2 separate regions of the Homo sapiens genome follow, and region 1 is linked to region 2. Evidence: promoter capture Hi-C in 16 types of primary human blood cells and fetal thymus (Javierre and others, 2016). All regions are on one chromosome and are shown on one strand. Each heading gives the region's core, a stretch centred on a gene start or on the middle of the fragment in contact. The rest is flanking DNA. Distances are from core to core; before and after follow the strand shown.

Evidence for each region. Contacts are between HindIII fragments. The CHiCAGO score rates a contact against its expected background, and 5 or more counts as called.
Region 1: a fragment that was not itself captured here is called in contact with the fragment with the promoter of LINC00092 in region 2 in 6 of 17 cell types (non-activated CD4 T cells, endothelial precursors, naive CD4 T cells and 3 more); the score reaches 6.8 in non-activated CD4 T cells.

Annotation. Positions count from the first base shown.
Region 1 is chr9:95,511,625-95,516,936 of GRCh38, reverse strand. It overlaps a transcript of PTCH1 not described here. Among named protein-coding and RNA genes, the nearest start is that of PTCH1, 5.0 kb to the right of the region's middle. RefSeq lists enhancers at 3,905-4,877, 4,743-5,312. The HindIII fragment of the contact is 2,460 bases long and covers 2,587-5,046 here.
Region 2 is chr9:96,017,803-96,023,380 of GRCh38, reverse strand. It overlaps LINC00092 (long intergenic non-protein coding RNA 92), which reads left to right and starts at 1,570. Exons shown (of 2, transcript NR_024129.2): 1 at 1,570-1,796; 2 at 2,100-3,649. It overlaps ERCC6L2 (ERCC excision repair 6 like 2), which reads right to left. Exons shown (of 19, transcript NM_020207.7): 19 at 4,934-5,578. LOC105376159 (a long non-coding RNA gene) reads left to right here. Exons shown (of 2, transcript NR_188619.1): 2 at 1-121. RefSeq lists enhancers at 148-648, 2,081-2,130 and a silencer at 2,341-2,390. The HindIII fragment of the contact is 3,638 bases long and covers 1-2,788 here.

The sequences.
Region 1 (5,312 bases), core at 2,567-5,066, 510 kb after region 2:
CCTCGAGTTTACTTTGCTTTCCTTGAGTTTATTGTAAAGGGGTAAAGTTTTCGGATCCGTCACGTGACCCTGACAGGTCCTGCCTATGGCGCGGCAGACCACCCACGCCGAGGGCCATGGAACTGCTTAATAGAAACAGGCTTGTAATTGTGAGTCCGCGCTGCACTCCGCCGAAAGCCTCCGGCGGCCCAGCGCGCCGGGGTTTTTACACTTTCCGTTCCTTTTGTAAAGACGGAGGAGGAGGAGAAGAAGAAGAAGAAAACGGAGGAGAAGAAAAAGACGACAGGGGAGACAAAGAGACCCGCAGCGACAAGGCAAGGGGGAGACGAGGGAAGACTGGGAGAAGACGGAGGAGCGGAGGACGAGGAAAGGGGGGCCAGGGAAAAAAAAGGAATTGATGTGAAATCCAAGCCCAGCGTCCGCGCCATCGGCACCCGCGCTCCGAGCAGGGGTTGACGGCCGGCTATGGTGAGTGCAGCCAGCGCGGCGGCCGCCGACGCCACCTCGCCTCGCGCGCCGTGCTCCTCGGGCGGCGCGGGGACACGGGGACGCGGGACGCCCCGCGCGGCGGACGGAGGAGCGAGCCCCGAGCGCCGGGCAGGAGGGGCGGGCCGCGCGCCGGGGCCGTGGAGCCGGGTGGGCTGCGCCGCCTGGGCGCGGGAGCGCGGGTCCCGCGCCTCCACGCTCGCTCGCACGCCCGGGCCCCCGCCCCCGAGGCCAGCCCCGCGTGGCGGGGAGGGGGCTGGCCGCGGCGGGCCCCGGCTGAGGAACGGCTCCGGGGGGAATTCTCACGGAGGGGGTCGCCGGAGCTCCCATTTTCACGCCTGAAAGGGTCGCCACCTTGGCTTCCGCTCATCAGCCTGGTGGTGGCTACTGACTCGCCAGCGGAGGCAGAGCTGGTGATGGAAGGGCTGGTGCGGAGAGTGACAGCGCCGAGGGGAGGGGGCTCAGAGCGCGCGCGCGGAAGCCGCTGCCGCCAGCTCGCGGGAGCAGCCGCAGCCGCAGGGAAGGGCACGCTCGCGCCCCGCAGACCCGCTCTCGAGCCCGCACGCACGCCTAGGGGTGCGGGACACCCGGGCTAGAAGAGACGCACCTTACCCACCTCCCCTCCCATGCTGCGGGAAAAGGGCCAGAGAGGCTTTTGGAGTTCTGGAAGGGGCGGTGGGTAAGAGAGGTGGTGTGTGTGACTCTTATGCCCACCGATTCAGGCGCTTGGGTGGCTGCCACCCTTACAGAGATGGGCGACCAGCCCAGTGCTTAGAGTGCAGAGTGCGGCCTCAGGGGAGCCCGGGGGCGGGCCGGACCGATTCTCACTTTACAGGCCCGGGCCCAGCGCTGAACCCCAAGACCCCCAGAAACTGTGCCTCTGGGTGACATGCGCTGTGTCTCCACGTATTTAGTACGTTCATGTTTAAAATGATGCTAGCGTGTGGATGAGCACACTCTCAGGGAAACTGATCTGTTTCCATCACCTAAGAAGAACCATATGGGTGGGCGGCTGTGGAAGACACCCACAGACCTGTTTTCCTGCACCTGGGAGAGAAGACCGTCTTCCTCCCTTTTTATCCTTTCTTCCTCCCTGGGGAGGAGAAATACAAAAGAACTAGACATAAATAATAAAGAGCCACAATGGGTGGCTCTAAATATTTGATAATTGGATCACTGAGGTCTTGAACTACCACAATAGTCCTTTTTCAGCATTCTGTGTGTGTGCATTTCTTTTAGGTTTTTATTTATTTCTGTGTTTATTGGCGACAGTAGTTCAGCATGCAATTAATCGCCTCCACAAAGAAAGACAATGCTTTATGGTGTCATCCTTTGTTATTGCAACTTAAAATTTCTGGGTGGTACTCCGGATAAATTGTTGCCTCAGGTGCATGGAGTGCCCAAGTTGTAAAACAAGGGGCTTTCGATTGTGAGTTTATGTGTGTTCCAGTTGTCACCCAGCTTCCTTCCACAAGGCTATAAAATGCCTTTGAGTCCATGATCTGTTTCAATTAAAATGTTGAATCAAGGTAGACATCAATAGGCCCCGCCATTCTCAATTTGGGGTATTAGCTTCATTTCAAACTCACTGTGAGTGGTGTATCTAATTTCTGGTTATAAAGTAGTCATAATCTTTGAAGCTATTTGAACAAAACTTAGAACCATTTGGAATTATTTTCTGAAAAGAAAAAGGCTGTTTTACAAAATTATCTTCAACTTTCTACAGATAGATAAACTGATGAGGTTAATCAATGTGGATTAAAATATGTCTCCCGTTTTTATCCTCATTCCTCTCTCTCTCTCACACACACACACACACACACACACACCTTTTATTTTCTCCAGCCTCTGCCACAGTGTATAATGCCCTATTGAGACGTGTAGGCGTGATGTGTAAACCGGATTAGCAGTATGAAAGAAAGACACACAATAAGCTGGAATTGTTTTACTTCCCTTTCATTTCTCATGCCTATATTTCTGATAAATTTGTTGCTCCAGCAGTGGGTCAAAGGGATCATGTTGCTCAGCTTCTTTTTCATGCAGGACCCAATAGCAGAGATCACTGAAATGAATGGTGTGCCTCCTAGCAAACGCAAAGCTTGATAGAGATATATTAGACAGGGAGAGGCGAGGAGAGGGAAGGATGCAAAACATGTTCAAAGTCTGGGTGTTGTAGGAATACATCTCTATCCATGAGAGGAAAGCAATGTGGGTAAGAATATATTTGGAGAGAGAGGGATCAATGCAGGGGTCAATGCTCTGTTTTCTTTCAAGTTCATAGTAGGCTCTGAACATTCAGCAGTTGGTGACATGCTTAGCAAGAGAATACCAATAGCTTTTGGCAATACATAAAGTCTAATTCCCCTTTCAAGCTAGTATTTAGACCTGGAGTAATCAATGTGGAGATTTCTGGGACCTTCTCAGGACACTCCCCTCTGCCGCTTTCCCCACCCCCAGCTCACTGTAAGCTCAAAAAATGCCAGTGCTCCCGGGTTTGTGCTGTAGACCCCTCATTTACTCCTTTGTGGAGTTAGGAGCAGCTTCCCATTAAAGGAGATCAGGGGTAATTAGCAGCATTATTTTGACAAGTTGGCTAGAGCTGTTCCCTTTCCTCCAGCCTGGGGAGGGGGTAAATAAGGGGAGGAAACAGAAGGTGGAAGGGAGTAGGGGAGGGGAGTCAAGCCCAGTAGTTTTAAATTTTGTAGCTGCTGAATCTCCCCCCACCCCGTCCCCGACTTCCCTGAAACCTTTTAGACTCATTTTCTACCATCACCTTTTAAGAATATACAAAAGCTGCCAATGAGAAAATAGTAAGGCATTCTTAGGGAGCCAAGAAAATGTGGTGGATGGTGGCACATTGGCTTGAGTTGAGTCGACTCAACTCATATTCAAGGTACCTGCTTGGAACTGCTGAAGCCCTGCCTTGACCATCACTCACATCCTGTATCCTGGGCTCCCCATGCAGTAAAAGAATATTGCATCAAATCCCCAATTCCTCTCTCCATCCGACCCTCTCAACAAAAATACTGTAGGACTTAAAATCATGTTTGCAATTCCTTGTATTTCTGGAAGAGTATTAAACTCAGTAGACAAAATTATAAATGGCCCCAGGGTCAAATTACTGGAATACATTAACCCCTTTATTCATTTATACTCTGCAAAACTTGCCAAATTACATTGGATTTTAAAGACTCATTTGGTTTGATCTGAGAAACCAGTGAAAAGTTAAATCTCACTGTGGTTTTTCATAACTCCACCAAGTCTGGCTTCCACAATTGCTTACCATTGGAACATCCCAACACAAAGGGCAGATGTTTTATTTCATTGTCATCATTTGGATAATCTGATGTCATTTTTGAAATGTGTGTGGTGTGGCCATGGATATTTGTAGTATTGGAACAGAGAAGGGAGGAGATGTGAGGGAATCCGGAGAGCTTAAGGCATCTGCTTTGAAAACTACACACTCCAATGAGAAGTCTTGGATCATGACTGGGAGACCAAAATGACAATTTATGCATTGAGATGAACTTTACTTGGAAAGGGGAAATGGAACACTCAGCTGTTGCTTCATAAAGGCTGGCAACTCCTGCTGGCTGATAAGGCCCCAAGTTCTCACTTATTTTTATTTGGTAACTGTCACAAGGGGTGCCAGAGGCAGAAGGGCCATTTAAAGGGACTGTCTTCCCGGAGGACACCTTAGCAGGTCTGGCTGCCCCAGTCTGCATCTCAGATCTGTGGAATCCTTGTGGTTAGTTGAAGTTAACAAACCCGGTGTGGCACAGCAGTCCCCTGCACAGGGCATGCATATTAAAGCCGACAATGCTTACAAATGTAAATAAGGGCAGATTGATTAGGAACAACATTATCGCTGGGAATGTCGCACTCGCATGCATCAGCAATGAGGCAAATTGGGGGCAGCCTCAGCCCTGACCACCCAAGTCGAGCAGGCTTTTACACTGGCTCCTCTTCCCTTTCTTAAAACGTTACAGAAACAAGGCCAATTAGATCCTCAAAGTAATTCATCTCTAAGTATGAAAAAAGCAGACCACAGGGGAAGCGGCGGGTGGGGGGTGGGGAGATTAAGATAGCGCTCGTTAGAGCCGAGGCTCCGGAGTGCGTCCTGGAACCCACGGGTAGAATTTACAGGCCGGGACCATTGTCTGAGATGCTGAAAAGTTAACCCATCAAACAGCGGGCGAGGGGGCTCAGGGCACTGAAAGCTCCGGGGATCAATGTTCAAAACGTTTAGGAATTAAGTCAAACTAAGGGATATGGGCCTGAGTGGAAGAGGCTTTGCCACTGAAATGACGTGCATGTGGCAGCCGCCGGAACCAGAGGACATGCAGCCGCGTGCGGAGAGTGAGGCGGATCCATTACGGGCACACAGCTTACCATTTCCTTCCAGAATTCCTTCTTCCAAACAAGCTATACTGAAATCCCTCTAGTAAAAGATTGAGACGAAACACTAATAGTTTTGGGCCAAAACGTGGTGGAGAAGTTTGAAAAGACAAACATAGCAACGTGTCTTTGGCTATATGGTTCCTTGCCCTCCAGCAAGCTTGAAATATAAAAAGGCTAACATGCAAAACTAGGGGTACTACCCCCCTCCCCCAGTTTTTAAAAAGCAATTTCCAGAAGCAAACACACAATGGTTCGACTTGAAGTGTCGGCATAACCATTCAGTAAGAAAAGCTAGAATAGTAAACCTCTTTTCCTGTTTTGTGCTATTTATCAAACCTAATAAACATCAGGATCGTACTCAAAGATGAAACTGGCAATGTGTGGAGCCGTCTGAGCTCTTTATCAACTCAGTGTCATTTTCCTCG
Region 2 (5,578 bases), core at 321-2,820:
GATGAATTAAACATTATATAAAAAAGGAATAAAACCACTGGTAGGATCTGTATTCCAGGAAGAAAAAAGCATATTACATAATAGGTCAATGCACAGAAATAAAAAAAGGAATTTAACTAGAGCCTATGCTAATCATAAATCCCTTCCCTGTTCCAGAGTCCTGTTGTCTCTGGGGTCTTGGCCTGTCTTATCTAGGCCATGGAGTGGTGGGGGTGGGATGCTGCTAGTTCCTAGGCAGGAAATAGTGGCCAGTTACCCTTGTGGTGTCATTTCTGGGTCCTGGAAAGGAGACCACTGCTGACCCCTGACTCACCAACCAACAATTATTGATGGAAATCCCACCGGCCTCCCCGGACAAAGGCAGCCCAGACCTGGACTCATTCACATGTAAAGGAAGTGGCCAGAAGTGGCTGCTGTTGGCAGGGGTGAGGGACGGGAGAGCGCGCTAAGTGGCCTGTGTCTGTGGGGGAGGGAGAGGGTGGAGCAGCACAAGCCGGCCTGAGGTTAGGAGCCTGCGGTATCTCCAGGAAAGCAGAGGCGGCTGTGGGGGGCGCCGGGGCTGAAGAGCCAAGTGTGGAGACTGCTCCATCTTGCCCATCTCCAGAAACTCAGACCACCCATCCATTAAAGGCAGGTGGATGAGCAAGGGGGCCTCGCAGGCATTCCAGATCACACTGAACCTGTGCCCCACTGCCTGACCCATTCAGCATCCCTATTAACAGACACTCGCTGCCGTCTGGCCCGGACCCGGCTGGCGCTGCGGGTCCTTCCACCCCAGTTAGGAAGGGTCATGGCTCCCGCGGAAGCCCCTGCCAGGGTGAATAAACTCGGCGTGGGGCTGACGGGCTCTGAATTACTCCGTTGCTTACAAGCCGAGTGCCCCTCTGTGCCTCAGTTTCTCCCTCTATAAAACAATACGAATACCGGCCCAGAAGCGTTGTTGGGCAGATTAAACGAGAAAATCCACTGGAAGTGTTTAACAAACGACACACAATACGGGCTTCATACCTGCCAGCCGATGTCCCCTGCAGCCTTTATTCCCTACCCAATTCCCCTTAGCCTGCTATGTGGAGATACAGGAGGCTTGCACCCGCCGCGGTCCCGGTGTATTTTAACGGGCTCCCGGGGAAGCGGTGTGGAAAATGGATTAGGGAGGGAGGAGGCCAGAGCCTCGGAACCCGGGGAGAGGTCTGCAGGCATCCAGTTGGGAGCTGGAAGGGCGGGACAGGGCCCTTGGCAGGGGGATCCAGGAAATATTTTGGAGAAATTCTCTCTAGGACTTGGTAACAGGTTGAGAGCGGCCACTTGGCCGGGGGCGCCGGCTTCGGAGGCGGGAGGGAGGTGGAGGAAGGGAAGGCAGCTGCAGGGCCGACCTGCGGGGTGGGCGTGAGGCCGGGGGATTGGGGCCGCAGGGGTTCGGCCTGGAGGAGCGGCGTGGGGGCGCCGGGGCCCTGATTCCATCCTGGGCGGGTCGGCCCCGCAGCCGCTGCGCTCGGAACCCCCTAGGCGCCCCGCAGTACCCGGCGTCCTTCCTGCCTCCTCCTCGCCCCTGTCCTCCGTCCGAGCCCCAGTCCCGCCGACCCTGCCGGCGCCTCCGCCCTCCCGCCCTCCCGCCCTCGGTTTCCCACGACCTCGGCGCGACGCGCGCGGGATCCAGTGGAGACTGCTTTCCCATAGGCCGCCATCCAGGGCGGGGAAGGGAGCGGACCCTCCCGGCTCCAGGTGCCTGGGCCCCCGGCGGCCTGCGGAGGCCTCGCCCCACGCCACCCGCCCACTGGCCTCGTCTTCGCGCGGGGGTGAGAGCAAAGGAGGCACTCGGCCCATCGCCAGCCCGGGTCCCCTTCCTGCCCGTCGCTATCCGAGAATTTGCCCCGTGTCCCCCAGGCCGCGGGGGTCCGGAGAACCGAGGGGCGGACCCCGCAGAGGGCTGCGCCGCCCTCCCTTCTCTCCCCGCGGGAAGCAGCCCCCAGGACCGCCCCTCGCTCCCTGCCCGGGAGGGACTGGGCTTCCCCGAGGTGTGCGGCTCCTGGAGAACTCGCTTTCCCGTTTCCAGCCGGCCAAGCCATCAGTTAATCGCTTGCTTTCTCTTTTCTTTACAGAGAAAAGCAGCCTGATTCGGAGGAACGGGTTGCTTGGGGCGGCTCCCAGCTCGAGTTGTGGGCCCCGCCGCGGGTGCCCTTCGGAAACGCGCTGACACCAGGCGAAGCCGCCTCTGCCCGGACGCAGCCCGACACTTGGCCCGCGGGGTTCCCCGGGACGCCTGAGAGTAATGGGCGCGAGGGGGAAAGCCGAACGGCCTCCCTGTGCCCGGCGCAGGCGGTGCCCCCTAGCTGGGTTCGCCGCGGCGGCGCTGCGAGCCCCCGACACTGAGGACTTTTGGTCCAACAGTCCGACGGGGCCCGGTGCGCCGTTCCCTCCGCCCTCTCCCCGCTCCCCGGCCCGCGCGTCTTGGAGGGTGGGTGAATTGTCGGAAGCACTCTACGCCTGGCCAACCCAAACCAGGAACCTCCGCACCAAACAGCCCACGTTGCTGCTGCTCTGGGGTTTTAACGGCCAAGGGAGACTGGAGAAGGGGTGTTCTGCCTTCCCATTCTCTTAGGCCCGTCCACTCCCCATCCCCACAGTTTGGAAGTGGCCTTTTCTGAGGACTCCAGCGCAAAGCATGTTTCTCCTTTTGAGCTGCGGAAGCCTTGCTTGTTCCCGCCATTGGGAGGGCATTCCATCATCTGCAGCTGCCTTCCTCGGTGGGCCTTGTCCCTTAGCGTCCACCTAGGGGACATTCTAAGCTTCTTGAGACCTGCTTGTCCACCCCAACATGTCTCAGCATATGGCTGTGCCCTAAGGGGTCTTTGAGGGCATTTTAGGAGGTGAGCGGCGCCCCTACCTGGGCTCCGCGGGGCCGATTCGGTTTGCCCTTTGCTGGCATGTCAGTGAATTAACTGCTGTCCTTGGGATGACCTGCCCTATGATTTGGCCTCTGGAGCATCCCGGGTGTGTATTTCAGAACTCCTCCCATCTTATCCACCTGCTGAAGGCCTGGCCCCCTGATATGGTTTGGCTCTGTTTCCCCACCCAAATCTCACCTTGAATTTTAATAATCCCCACGTGTCATGGGCGGGACCAGGTGGAGGTAATTGAATCATGGAGGTGGTTTCCTGAACGCTGCTCTCGTGACAGTGAGTTCACAAGATTTTTTTTTTTAACGGAGTATCACTCTGTCACTCAGGCTGGAGTGCAGTGGCGCGATCTTGGTTCACTGCAACCTCTGCCTCCCGGGTTCAAGAGATTCTCCTGCCTCAGCCTCCCGAGTAGCTGGGATTACAGGTGCGCGCCATCACGCCCGGCTAATGTGTATTTTTAGTAGAGAAAGGGTTTCACCATGTTGGTTAGGCTGGTCTGGAACTCCTGACCTTGTGATCTGCCTGCCTCGGCCTCCCAAAGTGCTGGGATTACACGCGTGAGCCACTGTGCCCAGCCGATCTGATGCTTTTATAAAGGGCTTTCCCCGTCCCCCTTCCTCTCTCTCACCACCCTGTGAGAAAGGTGCCTTTCTTCCCCCTTCACGTGAACTGCCTCCATGATTGTAAGCTTCCTGAGGCCTCCCCAGCTATAAGGAACTGTGAGCCAATTAAACTGCTTTATAAATTAACCCAGGTATTTCTCGGGTATTTCTTCATAGCAGCGTGAGAATGGACTGATACACCCCCAATGTGGAGTAGGGGAAGCTGAGGGAGTTAGGAGGTCCCAGCAAGGTGAAGGTGTGATGGGGTCTTGGGACAGTGAGAGTGCTGCCTCAGGCAACAGTGGGCAGGTCATTGAGGCTCCATTGAGCTTGGTGAGCAGGAAGCTGAGAGAGGGAGCTGTCGATTCAGGAGTCAGGGGTGACATGGAAGGAACCTAGGGCTTTGCCAGGCACAGGTGAAGGAAGGCCACTTAGGTACTGGCAGTGGGAAGAGAGGGCAGGGAGTGGTGGACGGAGAGGAAGAGAAAGCTGAACACTGGAGCACAATGCGGGTGCTGGGAGGCAAGCAGAGGGGGCTGGGGGCTTCTCATATGGTGCATCCTGGCATTTATATTTTGAAAAATAATTGTTTTGTTCCCATTAGTGCTTTTATAATAGTTTTAGGAAAGAAGAGAAAATATGAATTAGCTATTATGAGGCTTCTTTTGAAGTTTCTTTCAGTTCAGAAACATATCCCACTTTACAAAAAAATTAAGAAAATTCAAAGTTAAAAAATGTAGGGAGGCCAATAATTTTAGTTGCCAGACATTTTAGTCTGACAAGACAACTCATTGGAGTTTCCTTAGAGACGTATTAGAAATTCAGAGCTGCACACGCATTTTTCCCCCTGCCAGATAAACTGAAACAACATAAAGTGAGTTTTAGTTATTTCTTTCAACGAGACTGCGAGGCCTATTTAGCTAACGAAAAAGATATCTGTAGAAAGAAGCATTCTTGATTCTTATCTACAAGACAGAGCAGCAAAAAACCAAGAATGTCAGATGAGTATTATCTCTGTCCATGGCAGAAAGGTATCATGTTGGTATAATTAAGATTGGTCTTAATGGAAACTTAGGCAATAAATATAAACATCATAGTTTAACCTGCAGCAAAGCAAATAAAATACATGAAATATAATAGAAAAACAATGCAGGCAAAGGCAGGCAGATTGCTTGAGTCCAGAAGTTCGAGACCAGACCTGGGCAACATGGCGAAACCCTGTCTCTAAAAAAAAAAAAAAAAATGCAAAAATTAGCCGGGCAGGGTGGTGCACATCTGTGGTCCCAGCTACTTGGGAGGCTGAGGTGGGAAGATCCCTTGATCCTGGGAGGTCGAGGCTGCAGTGAGCTATGATTGCGCCATTGCACTCCAACCTAGGTGACAGAGTGAGACTCTGTCTTACAAAAAAAGAAAAACAATGCTATGTGTGAATTTTTTTCCAATCTTTTAATAAGGAAAATGTTTTTTTCAAAATAATGGCTTATATGGAGTGTCAACATAAAAACAATATAATTTCAAATTGATAAGTAAAATATAGTCAGCAATCTCACATACATCAAAATTTGGTATATAACACACATTCTGGAGAGGTGTTGCTTTTGGTCTTACTTTTTTTCCATTTTTAAAATTGTAAAACACATACAAAATTTAGCATTTTAATGACTTTTAAGTGTACACTTCAGTGTCATTAAATTCACATTGCTGTGCAACCATCACGACCATCCATCTTCAGGCCACTTTGCATCCTGTGTAACAGAAACTCTACACCCATTAATAACTCCCCTTTCTCCCCTCCCTCCAGCGTCTAGCAACCACCATTCTACTTTGTCTCTATGAATCTGACTAATCTAGGTACTTTATATAAGTGGAATCATACAGTATTTGTCCTTCTGTGTCTGATTTATTTCACTTTGCATACCGTCCTCAAGATTCATCTATGTTGTAGCACGTGTCCGAATTTCCTTTCAAGGCTGAATAATATTCCTGTGTGTGTAATATTTTGCTTATTCATCGATAGGTACTTGGAATGCTTTCTTCGTGTTGTAGCCATTGTGAATAATGCCACTATGAACACAG